Regions from separate parts of the Homo sapiens genome. Here all the other regions are linked to region 1. Evidence: promoter capture Hi-C in 16 types of primary human blood cells and fetal thymus (Javierre and others, 2016). All regions are on one chromosome and are shown on one strand. Each heading gives the region's core, a stretch centred on a gene start or on the middle of the fragment in contact. The rest is flanking DNA. Distances are from core to core; before and after follow the strand shown. Region 1 has its middle 5.7 kb from the start of KRT19. Region 2 holds the start of KRTAP4-12 (keratin associated protein 4-12). Region 3 holds the start of KRTAP4-6 (keratin associated protein 4-6). Region 4 holds the start of KRTAP4-4 (keratin associated protein 4-4). Region 5 holds the start of KRTAP4-2 (keratin associated protein 4-2).

Region 1 (2,711 bases), core at 113-2,612:
GCAGACATAATTCCCAGTGTCTACATACTTGATCACATTGATTGGTTTGAGGCATACCTCAATACTGGGTCAATAGCTCTAGCCTGATGGCCCACATGGTGGCTCCCACTCCAGCACCCCCTAAAGATCTTCCAGTTATTTCAGAAAGTCCCCAGGGGAATGCCTCGCATGTGCCCACAAGGTGGCTGCTGTCTTGCATAGAATACCCTCTGCTCTGCCACCAGCTGTAGCCCCACAGATCCACGCCACCACCTGGGAGAGCCTTGTTGTCTGTTGTGAGAACACCCAGGGGGGCCAACTTCAGATGCTTCCAGACGATGGATCCTTGGAGAACCAGAGTGGGAGGGCTTTCCTCAGGTGTAAGTCATCGGCTGCAAGGAGCTCTCCCTGTACTCAGACTCTTCCAAAGTTCTTCTTGTCCGTTTTGCCTTCTTGTTTCATAAAGAAGTAAAACTAGCCTGGCGGACCCAGGGGTGGGGGCACGAGGATGGAAACCCTTTCCAGGGTCTCTTTTCTCCTCACATCTAGTTCTCCCTCTTCCAAAACTTCCTCTCTCATTTCTCAATTCAAGGCTAGGGTTGGTGTGGATGAGCAGAGACAATGATGTCAGTGGTGAGTGCAGGGAGGGGAAGAGGGTATTGACTATATGAAATTTGGCTAGTTCTAAATGTCTGTGGTTTAGTGTTACTTAAGAAATTATTTACTTTAATTAACAAGAAATACTAAATACATTCTTATAAAACTTAAAACCATAGAGATTAAGCTTAGGTTCCTATTGGCTACCATCCTTCAATCAGATTCCTTCCTTACCTATGCATATATTCATACATATTCATATGGACCTTAGCAATAAGTCATCTTTTGAATGTATGTTGACATGAATTTATCATATTAAGTGTGTTGCTCTCCAACTAGATTTACTGTACCCAACAACTAGTTTTTTTTTTTTTTTCTTTTGAGATGGAGTTTCACTCTTGTCACCCAGGCTGGAGTGTAATGGCTCGATCTCAGCTCACTGCAAGCTCTGCCTCCCGGGTTCAAGCAATTCTCCTGCCTTAGCCTCCCGAGTAGCTGAGATTACAGGCACCCGCCGCCACGACTGGCTAATTTTTGTACTTTTAGTGGAGACGGGGTTTCACCATGTTGGCCAGGGTGGTCTCGAACTCCTGACCTCAGGTGATCCACCCACCTTGGCCTCCCAAAGTGCTGGGATTACAGGCGTGAGCCACCATGTCCGGCCCAATAACTAGTTCTTTAGGGTTTTCAGTGTCACTATTCATTGTCATTACTCATTCCATTTAATTTCTAGTCCTCCACAGCAGGATGTTACATAGTTACTGAACGCCTCCCCGCCATTAGTGATTGTTTGTGTCTTTGCACTGTAGCAAACAATGCTGCATAGGGCATCCTTTTATATGACTTCCTCAATACACGGGCCAGGGTTTCTTTCGGATGAACACGAAGAGTGGAACTGATGGCTCAAGAAGTGCATGAATGTTAAAAAAAATGATGACATTGTCAAATCGCTCTGCAAAGTGGTTACTACAACCCACCTCCCACCAATGTGTTTGAGGAGGTTCATTTACTCATGGCTTCTCTACACTTGACATCATCAAACGTTGTGAGCAGGCCAGTCTAATCAGGAAAAGTAAATCTCCTGTCTTCTCCTGAATTGGGGAGAGGTGGTCCCCTGGCTGCCTTAGTTGGGTAGGGGTCTGGGAGGGGGCCTGGTACTGTTGACAGAAACTTCCAGCCAGCCCTGCTTACGGTCCCTCTTCCACTTTTCCTCTCCATGTCTGTGGTGCCCCAATTCTTGAGCTTCTTTAGAGTATGTTGAGAATGTGCTTGCCTCTCACGGGCTTCCTGCTCTCTCCTCTGTTGACCCCTTCCTAATCCCCCAAACCCTGGGTCTCAGCTTTCTCTCATCTTCTGTGTTACCATTTTTGAGCTTTAAAGCTTTTGTTGACATTTCTCATCTTTGACCCTCCCTCCTTCCTTTCCTCCTTCCCTCCTTCTTTCCCTCCCCTCCTCCTTCCCTCCCTTCCTCCCTCCCTCCCTCCCTCCCTCCCTCCCTTCCTTCCTTCCTTCCTTCCTTTCTTCCTCCCTTCCAGCTGGGTCTTACTCTGTCACCCAGGCTGGAGTGCAGTGACGCAATCTTGGCTCACTACAGCCTCCACCTCCCAAGCTCAGGTGATCCTCTCACCCCAGCGTCCTGTGTAGCTGGTACTACAGGTGCACACAACCATGCCCAGCTAATTGTTTGCATTTTTGGTAGAGACAGGAGTTCGCCATGTTCCCTAGGCCAGTCTCAAACTCTTGAGCTCAAGCAGTCTGCCCGCCTCGGCCTTCCAAAGCGCTGGGATTACAGGCGTGTGCCACTGTGCCTCACCTCTTCTTCCATTCTCTTAAAATACTCCTTAACTGTCATATCATAGCAGGGTTTTAGGAAGGAGTCAAAATTGATGTAGCTATTGAACCTACCACATTTCACCAAAGCTAATACACTTCTATACACCCCCCTACCAGATTGTCAGCCTCTTAGAGGCAGGAAATATTTGTATTTACTTCTGTGCCCCAGCCCCTGGCAGCATGCGTAGCACAGAAGCTGCGCTTGATGCATGTTCACTGAATGAATGGAGGAGCGGGTGAGGAAGTTCCTTGTGCTGGTGGTCCCTGGGGAAGCGGAGGCCGTTCAGGTAAGGAGCTACTAA
Region 2 (2,711 bases), core at 57-2,556, 410 kb after region 1:
CCACTTAGGAGTGAGAACATACCTTGCATCTTTTTAATTATAAATAATTGTTTTTAAATATCAGGAGGGATTTAATTGCAAAATGTTCATGCGCAAAATGTTCCTTGAACACTCTAGGAGAGACGCCCTTTCCCTGTTACAGACTGTGTGACTTCAATCTATCTGGGCCTCAAGTACCTTGGATGTAAAGAATTTAGAAAAATTGTGTCTACATAGCAGAATCCTTGTGAAGTATAAACAAGATAACAATTATAGAGGACTCAGAAAATTCCTGACACATAGTAAGCACTCAAAAAATTATAACTATTAGTATTGTTTCATCTTTCATTGGAAGTGTACAGATTAAATACATAATTGTTATTTTGTTCACTAATCACACCATTCTCTAAATAGTTGCTAAATTCTTTCCTATACATGTTTCTTATTTGTCTTGTTTAAGCTTCTGTAGGACAGAAATTAAACTTGATCCTTTGTTTCTTTTCTCCATGTATCAAGCAAAATATCTCCAACATACATTGTGAGAAAAAGCAGCTTTCGAGTATGAGAAAATCTACTTTCAATAACACTTCAGTTAAACACATTCAGTGGGTATCTTGACTTACCAACAAAATAGAACAAAAATGTTCCTTATGATCCCCATCTCTGAAGAACATGCCAACAATAATTTATAAAGGGACCTATCATGCCAATGTATTTTTACTTGTAAAGCAATGAATCATTGCATTATATCTGTTTCAAGCTAAATAGAGTCAATAACATGAAACAGGAATTTCAGTGGGATCTTTTATATCTCACTGACCAGCCACAAAATTCAAAGGAATCACAGTGTTCCTTATTATACACAAGTTACCTCCTATCACCCCCCAAAGATGAATCTTTCATCACATTTTCCTACCAGCATTCTATGTAATTTATTTTTAACCTCTTTGAGAGCAGAGGAGATTTAGTCATCATAAAATCTATTTTCAACTTATTATCCAGGAGTCAAATAAATAAAGAATTAACTTATGAAATCCAATCAAACAATGTCATGTAATGGGTCTACACATCAGAAGACACATCAGATGAAGGAAGGAGAATGAGAGCTGATTCACTTGGCTTAACCAAATTGGATAGCTCAGAATACAACAGGAAAAGGAAATGTTGCCTTTTCTATTTATAGAAATATTTACCAGATAAGGACAACTATCTAATTTACTAAAAAACAACTGATTCTCTATTAGTAATGTGCAAACCACAAGATTATTCACATTGTCATAGTGGTTCTCAGCAGGGTATAAAAAGCAAAAGAGAGAACAAGGAGAGATCAAACTCAGAACACTCACTCTCCTGGAAACCCACCGAGAACCTCCACCCTCTGACACCATGGTCAACTCCTGTTGTGGCTCTGTGTGCTCTGACCAGGGCTGTGGCCTGGAGAACTGCTGCCGCCCCAGCTGCTGCCAGACCACCTGCTGCAGGACCACCTGCTGCCGCCCCAGCTGCTGTGTGTCCAGCTGCTGCAGGCCCCAGTGCTGCCAGTCTGTGTGCTGTCAGCCCACCTGCTGCCGCCCCAGCTGCTGTCAGACCACCTGCTGTAGGACCACCTGCTGCCGCCCCAGCTGCTGTGTGTCCAGCTGCTGCAGACCCCAGTGCTGCCAGTCTGTGTGCTGCCAGCCCACCTGCTGCCGCCCCAGCTGCTGTCAGACCACCTGCTGCAGGACCACTTGCTGCCGCCCCAGCTGCTGTGTGTCCAGCTGCTGCAGACCCCAGTGCTGCCAGTCTGTGTGCTGCCAGCCCACCTGCTGCCGCCCCAGCTGCTGCATCTCCAGCAGCTGCTGCCCCTCTTGCTGTGAATCCAGCTGCTGCCGCCCCTGCTGCTGCCTGCGTCCAGTCTGTGGCCGAGTCTCCTGCCACACCACTTGCTATCGCCCAACCTGTGTCATCTCCACCTGCCCCCGCCCCTTGTGCTGTGCCTCCTCTTGCTGCTAAATCTCTGCTGTGAACACACCACTTCCTTATTACGTCCTTTCCTACAGATGAAGGCTCTCATTGCAAACATGCGGACTGTTCAAGAGAATTGATCTGGGTCCCATAAGCAAACCTCATCCTTAGAAATTCTGTATTTGCATTCTACCTTTTGTCCAAACTCCCTTCCTTCCAAAGGAATTCATTGACAATCTCCTAATAAATTGACAAATTGTCCTCCAACATCCTCCCACCTCTTTGACTTCAGGACATTTATTCATCATGCCTAAGGAATTTGAAGATTGCCTCCATCATTTGTAGGGCCACAGATCTTAAAGCCTCCAACCTTGAAGTCCAGTGAAGTCTCTCTCTTAAAGTCTTTTGCAAACATTTTTGTACCTTGTTATTTCCATGTACCAAAATAAACCTCTATTCTATTGGCACTGAAAATTGAATATGATTCTTATTCTCTTTTTAAAAAGGGTTTTATATTTAGGTCCTGGGTGATTACATTTAACTACACCTGTAGGGCTCACAGCACAGATTAGTCAACCTTCTAACAGAGGTCAACTGACATCGATCACTGCCTAGTTTTTTTCTAGAAAAGTCTTTTCAGGCTTAGGCAAATCAATTAGTCATTTTGTATTCTTTAGACAAAAAGAGTGAAGCTGAAGTCATGAAATATCCATGAATATAACAACAGGGGAAACGTTTTGAAAGATTGATCACAACTCATCATCTTTTAAAAAATAATTTCAACTTTT
Region 3 (2,711 bases), core at 134-2,633, 390 kb after region 1:
ATAACCTTGCTTTGTGTGAGGCCAAGAAAGATATTGGAGAAAAATGGCATTTGAACTAACTGGTAATGAATAACTAGAAGAATGCTAAGTGAAGGAAATAAAAACATTTCACCCCAAGATATATCTCACTGACATCCTTTAGCTAGTGAACTAGCATTCTAAAGTGCCATCTTAAATTTTAAAATTTGCCATAGGGTTTTGAAAGGGAAACTTGGCATGGGAGACATGCAGGGGTGGTGCAGGGTGCTGAGTCTGCATGTCTTGTTCCAATGGCTATCTTGGGTGTCCAGAGGTTTGGGAGGCATTATTTTGACTTCAGCCCAATGGTGGTGGATTAATTGTTCAAGATTCCCCCTAAGTGAGAGGATTCCTCAGGGCTCTGTGCCTGGTTTGTTTCAAGATTAGCCTCTGGAATTTCTTAAGCAAGAATATAATTAGATAAGATATTAGATAGTATTGCCAGAAGGGAGTGTGCAGAGGGAAGGAATGAAGAGGTGAGAGGGGAGGAAAGGAAGAGAAAGTGGGTGATTTTTAAAATTGAGGTCCACAGTTACATAAGTACCTGTAAGTTAAAGAATATATCTTTTATATTCCTCTCAATGCTTCTTAAAAAATCTTAGAAATAAGTGATACTAAAAAAAAACCCTGCTAGATGTTTTAGCTCAAAATGTATGAAAAAGATTTTAACAAAATGTCAATAAAGCATAACCATTACACATTTGATATTTCAAAAGGCAGATCAAAAACTATGATCCACATTACTCTACTTCAGCCTGTAGGACACTTTTGAAGACAGACGCAGCTCAAGCCCAGATGATGCTTTGTTCCTTAGAAACAGTGAGTCACTACTAACTGTTTCAAGGTGCACCAGAGTGATGAGAATTAACACAGCTTGCAATGACCTAGGAATTTAGTTAGCTCAATGGCCACCCAGAATACATACAATGAATCATAAGCTTCCTTATTTCTCACACTCAAAAACAGGAGCATATTTTCTTTTTTTCCTGTCAGCATTCCAGCTGATTGACACATGCATTTCTCCACTAGAGATCTTAGCCCAATCAGAAGCTCTCCCAAAACGATATCATGATGAGAAACAGACAAGTGACAGTGGCCCTCCCATGTCACATGATACCCAGAGACTGAAGTCATGTGACACTGAAACCAAGGAAAGGAAAACAAGAGGTGACTCATGTGGGAACACCAGGGTGAGAAAAGGGAAATAATCATTTTCTATATATTGGGATTTTTTACTAGAAAAACACAATATAATTTAGTAATTGCATTTGTGTCATATAAACAAAAACAAGGAAACAATCTTCTCATAATCACAAAGGCTCCTCAGCTGGGTATAAAAGGGGACATGCAGCAAGGAGACTCCCAAACTCACGAAACTCACTCTCTTGGAAACCCACCCAGAACCTTTACCCTCTGACACCATGGTCAGCTCCTGTTGTGGTTCCGTCTGCTCTGACCAGGGCTGTGGCCTGGAGACCTGCTGCCGCCCCAGCTGCTGTCAGACCACCTGCTGCAGGACCACCTGCTGCCGCCCCAGCTGCTGTGTGTCCAGCTGCTGCAGACCCCAGTGCTGCCAGTCTGTGTGCTGCCAGCCCACCTGCTGCCGTCCCAGCTGCTGTCCCAGCTGCTGTCAGACCACCTGCTGCAGGACCACCTGCTGCCGCCCTAGCTGCTGTGTATCCAGCTGCTGCAGACCCCAGTGCTGCCAGTCTGTGTGCTGCCAGCCCACTTGCTGCCGTCCCAGCTGCAGCATCTCCAGCTGCTGTCGCCCCAGCTGCTGTGTGTCCAGGTGCTGCAGGTCCCAGTGCTGCCAGTCTGTGTGCTGCCAGCCAACCTGCTGCCGTCCCAGCTGCTGCATCTCCAGCTGCTGCCGCCCCTCTTGCTGTGAATCCAGCTGCTGCCGCCCGTGCTGCTGCCGCCCCTGCTGCTGCCTGCGTCCAGTCTGTGGCCGAGTCTCCTGCCACACCACTTGCTATCGCCCAACCTGTGTCATTTCCACCTGCCCCCGTCCCTTGTGCTGTGCCTCCTCTTGCTGCTGAGCTCCTTGCCTGAAACTATCTCCTCCCCTTCAGCTCACTCCTCACAGAAGCAGACCTTGTGCATCTCATAAACAACTCAGAAGAGGCCATTCCCACCAACTGTGTTTCCATATCCTGGACATATATCTAGGATATATGTCCTGGCTATACATCTAGAATATATGTTCCCCATGTTGACCCAAGTGTGAAATTAGATATTATTTACAGAAAGAAATTAATAGAATTTACCAAATTTTATACCTTATATTTGTATTTATGGATACCAAGTTCTTCTGTCCCAAACATGGAAATTCTTGCAGGGTAACTCGGGGCAAGGTTGTCTCACTCTCAGATTTGAAAGTCTGATTGTTTCACCCTGTATTTCCTTTTACAGCAATGTTTCTGTATCTTATTTTTGCTGCTTCTGAATAAAACTCCACTTTTGTCGCATAGAAATACAATGTTCTTTTTGTGTTGCTTTGTAATGATTGTCCTTAGTTCCTGAGAAATTCCACCCAAAACACAACTGAACGAATCCTATTCTTGCTCTCACCTTCAAGAAAATTGCAACATGTAATGACCTAAAAAAAAGGCAATACATGGATGTTTCCAAAAGTATTGAAAAAAATAAAGATTTTAAGTTAAGTTTTTTTATGAATATGGAGAAGGGTTATA
Region 4 (2,711 bases), core at 135-2,634, 370 kb after region 1:
TATATATTATATATATATTTATACATACTATTAAATACAAACATATATGAAGAATATATATTATATATTCATAAATATGTAAATATATATATTCCTATATTACCTATATATAAGGTTCTCTATCTACCCATCTATATATGTATAATATATATATATATTCCTAAGGTCCTTTGGCAGAATATATATATTCCCCCAAACCTGTGTGTGTGTGAGTGTATATATATATATACATATACATCAAAAGAAAATTATGGGCCTAGAAGAATTAAAATCACCCAAGGTCAGACATAATGTGTGTGTATGTGTGCGTGTGTGTGTGTATATATATATATATATATATATATACACACACACACGCACACATACACACACATACATACACACACATATATGTGTGTGTATGTGTGTATATTTATATATAGTGTGCATATTTATATATAGTGTGTATATTTATATATAGTGTGTATATACGTGTGTGTGTATACTATATATAGTATATATATGTATATATATAATATATATTATATATATATATATATATTATATATATATAGCAAGGACACTGGGTCCTTTACCTTAGGTTGGCAAGTAAACCTTAGAAATAGAGGAGATGACTCAATGTGATTGTTAAAGCCAGAGAGACAGGAAGGAAAAGTCAGAAGGAAAATCAGCCCCTCAGAGCAGAGAGCGGAGGGACCTGAACCTTTTAGTATAGCTGATCTCTGTAGCCAATTTCCCCTAAAGGCCCTGAAACTGAGTTTTGGAGTGTTGTTTCTCAAGAAAAAGAAGCATCGATAATTCATGACTTAGATGTCCACCTTAAAACAATTCTGCTTTCCCCAGTAGAACATCTAGAAAATGGGTCATGATTCATTGTATGGAAGGTGGCAAGGAATATATCCTAATAGTATTTGTTTTCATGCCACTGGTCACCTGTTTCACATTCAAACCTTCATTGCTCACTTGATCTATAACAAACATGCCATGAGATTAAAGCACAGCTTTCTCCTCCTGAGTCACCAAAAGAAAATTACGGGCCTAGAAGAATTAAAATCACCCAAGGTCAGACATAATGTATTAAGGAAAATGAGGCTGCAGCACATGGTACCTGCAGGCAGATGTCACATGGCAGCTCAAGGAGGAAGCTGCAGCAAGAGGCACACAAGAGGTTGTTCAAGAAGAGCTGACCTGAAGAATCCTAACACACCAGGGGAAGGAAATAATGCTTTTCTCCATGTTGACAAATTTAAGCAGAAAAACAAACTTGCCTAATTTGATAATTGCCTGCTCATCAGAACAAACAATGACAAGGAAAGAGTGCTGCATCCGATGACATCAGCCCTGAGCAGGGTATAAAAGAGGATCTGGGGCAAGGAGACTTCCAAGCCTTCCAAACCCTCCTTCCTGGAAACCCACCCAGAACCTCCACCCTCTGACACCATGGTCAACTCCTGTTGTGGCTCTGTGTGCTCTGACCAGGGCTGTGGCCTAGAGAACTGCTGCCGTCCCAGCTACTGCCAGACCACCTGCTGCAGGACCACCTGCTGCCGCCCCAGCTGCTGTGTGTCCAGCTGCTGCAGACCCCAGTGCTGCCAGACCACCTGCTGCAGGACCACCTGCTGCCACCCCAGCTGCTGTGTGTCCAGCTGCTGCAGACCCCAGTGCTGCCAGTCTGTGTGCTGCCAGCCCACCTGCTGCAGACCCCAATGCTGCCAGACTACCTGCTGTAGGACCACCTGCTGCCGCCCCAGCTGCTGCAGGCCCCAGTGCTGCCAGTCTGTGTGCTGCCAGCCCACCTGCTGCTGCCCCAGCTACTGTGTGTCCAGCTGCTGCAGACCCCAGTGCTGCCAGACCACCTGCTGCAGAACCACCTGCTGCCGCCCCAGCTGCTGTGTGTCCAGGTGCTACAGGCCCCATTGTGGCCAGTCTCTATGCTGCTAGCCCATCTGCTGGCAAACCACCTGCTACAGGACCACCTGCTGCCACCCCAGCTATTGCATTTCCAGCTGCTGCCAGCCTTCCTGCAGTATCTCTAGCAGCAGTAGCTCCTCCTGCTGTGGCTTCAGCTGCTGCAGGCTCTCCTGCTGCATCTCCAGTTGCTGCCGCCCCAACTGCTGCCAGACCATGTGCTGCCGCCCAACCTGCTCTAGTGCTTCTTGCTGCTGAGGCTGTCATCTGGACTCACCAGATTCTCATCAACCAGCATTCTTGATGTAGCTCATCTATGAGCTGAGTTATGGGAAGCTAGTTGGAAAACTTCAGTTCCAACCAATTCTTAGATTGAATCTGGCCTCCAAATATATGCTCCCCCCACATTTTACCTCTCTACCAAATGAACATAAGTTGTAATTTGCTCTGAAATCTGTCAACTATCTTAATTGAAATATTTGCTCTCTGCCATAATTTCTCATATGGAGCTATTCCATTTTAAACAAATATTTATCTAAATAAATCTTAAATAAATTTTCAGGCATAGAAATATACAGATACTGTGTCTCATTATTTTTCTTTTTTGAGTGTGGTCAATTACCAGTCAATTTTTCTGTTGTTCTTCTCTGCAGAATGTAATTTCAGGGGCACCACCTCTATTTCCTCAGCACACTTTATTCTAATATACAATGGTGGTTTCTTAGAGCAAGCACCTGGAACTCTCTTCTTGAAGAGTTTCTCTAGCCAAGGAGCAAGCTCTGGACTGTAGAGTTAAAGCCTCT
Region 5 (2,711 bases), core at 70-2,569, 360 kb after region 1:
CATTCATCCAATCCCCTCCATCTGGTTCTTGGATCTCCCTCAGAAACACCAGCTTACACTGAAACTCCTCCCCTGATTATCTGCAGAGGCTGCCCAGTTCATAAAACATTTCTATCATGGTAAGTCAGACATTTTTCCACCCCCTTCCCTGGGTTCCTTGACTCCTCAGGGGTGGGGAAATACATATATATTTATTAACTGATGAGTTAATGAATTGACAACATAGCACATTTTTGAAACAATAGTCAGCCATCCCTACATGAAAAAATATAGGCTGATATCCTTTGTTCTTGATACCTGTTTTCTGCTTTCTTTCTCTCTTTATTGATTTATTTTTTGAAAACAAAGATGTAAAGTGTGAAATTGGATCAACAACTTCTATAAGGAAGCAGCAGAGTATAGGACATCTTCAAGGCCCAGCAATTCAGCAGAGAAAGCAAGAGGGCTGGGAGCGAATTAGAGCAAGCAAAGGATACTGAGTCATCTAATTTGGGTTGGCCAGAAAATTTTGGAACCTGGAGAGATGAGCTCATGTGCCCTGTTAGAGCTAGGAAGGCAGAAAGGCAAAGTCACAAGGAAAATCTGCCCCAGGGAGCAAAAAAATGAGGGACTTGGACCTTTAAGTATAGCTGTTCTCTGAAGCCAACATTCCCCAAGAGGCCCTGAATCTGAATTTTGGAGGGTTGTTTCTGTAGAAAAGGAAACATCAAACTTTCACAGCTTAGTTTTCCACCTTAAAACAGCTCTGTATTTCTCATCAGAAGGTCTAGAAAATGGGTCACAATTCAGAGTGCGGAAGATAAAAAAGCGATAGGTCCTACGGTGTTCTCGTTCTCACACCAGTGGTCATCTGTTTCACACTGAAATCTGTTTCACACTGAAACCTTCACAGGCCATCTGACCCATAATGAAGGAGCCATCAGACTGAAATGCAGCTTTATCCTCCTGAGTCACCAGAAAGAGTCAAGGGCCTGTAAGAATAGTAATCACCCAAGAGTAGTCATGATGTGTTAAGCAAATGAGACTGAAGCACATAGTATGTGCTTACAGGCAGATGTCACATGGCTGCTCTAGGAGGAAGCTATAGTAAGAGAGACACAGGAGGTGGTTCAGGAAGAGCTGAGCTAAGGAGTCCTAACACATTAGGGAAAGGAGACAGTGTTTCCATCTATGTGGATAAGTTAACCAGAACAACAAACTTGCCTAATTTGATAATTGCCTACATATCAGGACAAATAATAACAAGGAAAGAGTGTTGCATCTGATGACATCAGGCCTTAGCAGGGTATAAAAGAGGATCTGGGGCAAGGAAACTTCCAAACCTTCCAAACCCACCTTCCTGGAAATCCACCCAGAACCTCCACCCTCTGACACCATGGTCAACTCCTGTTGTGGCTCTGTGTGCTCTGACCAGGGCTGTGGCCTAGAGAACTGCTGCCGTCCCAGCTGCTGCCAGACCACCTGCTGCAGGACCACCTGCTGCCGCCCCAGCTGCTGTGTGTCCAGCTGCTGCAGACCGCAGTGCTGCCAGTCTGTGTGCTGCCAGCCCACCTGCTGCAGCCCCAGCTGCTGCCAGACCACTTGCTGCAGGACCACCTGCTGCCGTCCCAGCTGCTGTGTGTCCAGCTGCTTCAGACCCCAGTGCTGCCAGTCTGTGTACTGCCAGCCCACCTGCTGCCGCCCCAGCTGTGGCCAGACCACCTGCTGCAGGACCACCTGCTACCGCCCCAGCTGCTGTGTGTCCACCTGCTGCCGCCCAACCTGCTCTAGTGGCTCTTGCTGCTGATGCCCTCACCTATACTCACCTGCCTTTATTAACCAGCATTCTTGATATGATCCACCTGTGAACTGAATCATGCAAGGCCAATTGGACAACCTCAGTTCCAACCAATTCTTGGATTGAGTTTGGCCTCCAAATATGCTCACCAAACACTATGTTGCTACCCTCTACCAAATGAATACAAGTTTGAATTTTCTCTGAAATATGTCAACCCCATGTTCCCTGAATTGAAATATTTGCTCTCTACCATAATTTATCACATGGAGCTATTCCTCTATCTTAAATAAATTTTAATTTTTGAGGCATACAAATAATATACGGGCATTGTGTCTCATTTTTCCTTCTTGAATTCTCATCCTTACCTGTCAAATTTTCTGATGTTCTTCCCTGCAGAGGGAGAAGACCACAGCAGATGATATCAGGGGCTCCACCTCTATCCTATCAGCACTCTCCATTCAAACATAGGAAAATGGTTCCTTAGAGCAGGCACCTGGAACTCTCTACCTGAGGACTTTCTCTGGATAAAGGAGCAAACTCTGGGCTGGAGACTTAAAGCCTCTAGGAACAGCACTCAGAGAATGAGTGGGAGTTGGTAATATATGCCCTGGCTTGTTTCCCTCCAGTGGGGGGTATGTCAAACCAGTCTTCCAGAGGTCTTCAGCGGGATTTATACCAGATGCCTGCAGGAACATTCTGATCATGAACTCACTCTATAATGACTTTCCCTCCTTCCCAGGGTCATTCTTCAAGTTTCCTCCAGTGTTTCTTGGGTTAATCGTCCAAATATACCACATGTTCTCAGATCCTCTTTTGTGGGTTTGCCCCAGAGAGCACACAATCTAAAACAGCAGCATTCCTAATCTCAGTATTAGTGTCCTTCAAAATGTTTTTGTACAATATGAATGGTTACCATAGATTTTGATCAACTCTT

What was found. The method cuts DNA at HindIII sites, captures the fragments that hold promoters and counts their contacts. A CHiCAGO score of 5 or more calls a contact.
Region 2: a contact is called between the fragment with the promoter of KRTAP4-12 here and a fragment that was not itself captured in region 1, in 8 of 17 cell types (total CD4 T cells, naive CD4 T cells, naive CD8 T cells and 5 more). The highest score is 11.5, in total CD4 T cells.
Region 3: the fragment with the promoter of KRTAP4-6 here is called in contact with a fragment that was not itself captured in region 1 in 6 of 17 cell types (non-activated CD4 T cells, total CD4 T cells, naive CD4 T cells and 3 more); the score reaches 8.3 in non-activated CD4 T cells.
Region 4: a contact is called between the fragment with the promoter of KRTAP4-4 here and a fragment that was not itself captured in region 1, in 2 of 17 cell types (total CD4 T cells and naive CD4 T cells). The highest score is 5.5, in total CD4 T cells.
Region 5: the fragment with the promoter of KRTAP4-2 here is called in contact with a fragment that was not itself captured in region 1 in 5 of 17 cell types (total CD4 T cells, naive CD8 T cells, activated CD4 T cells and 2 more); the score reaches 8.3 in total CD4 T cells.

Annotation. Positions count from the first base shown.
Region 1 is chr17:41,532,612-41,535,322 of GRCh38, reverse strand. No RefSeq gene overlaps it. Among named protein-coding and RNA genes, the nearest start is that of KRT19, 5.7 kb to the right of the region's middle. The HindIII fragment of the contact is 1,193 bases long and covers 766-1,958 here.
Region 2 is chr17:41,122,777-41,125,487 of GRCh38, reverse strand. It overlaps KRTAP4-12 (keratin associated protein 4-12), which reads left to right and starts at 1,306. Exons shown (of 1, transcript NM_031854.3): 1 at 1,306-2,397. The coding sequence starts at 1,366. The coding sequence ends at 1,971. RefSeq lists an enhancer at 1,626-2,179. The HindIII fragment of the contact is 5,176 bases long and covers 442-2,711 here.
Region 3 is chr17:41,139,216-41,141,926 of GRCh38, reverse strand. It overlaps KRTAP4-6 (keratin associated protein 4-6), which reads left to right and starts at 1,383. Exons shown (of 1, transcript NM_030976.2): 1 at 1,383-2,494. The coding sequence starts at 1,440. The coding sequence ends at 2,057. RefSeq lists an enhancer at 1,739-2,251. The HindIII fragment of the contact is 3,012 bases long and covers 959-2,711 here.
Region 4 is chr17:41,159,421-41,162,131 of GRCh38, reverse strand. It overlaps KRTAP4-4 (keratin associated protein 4-4), which reads left to right and starts at 1,384. Exons shown (of 1, transcript NM_032524.2): 1 at 1,384-2,483. The coding sequence starts at 1,441. The coding sequence ends at 1,941. The HindIII fragment of the contact is 13,067 bases long and covers 1-2,711 here.
Region 5 is chr17:41,176,829-41,179,539 of GRCh38, reverse strand. It overlaps KRTAP4-2 (keratin associated protein 4-2), which reads left to right and starts at 1,319. Exons shown (of 1, transcript NM_033062.4): 1 at 1,319-2,094. The coding sequence starts at 1,376. The coding sequence ends at 1,786. The HindIII fragment of the contact is 17,641 bases long and covers 1-2,711 here.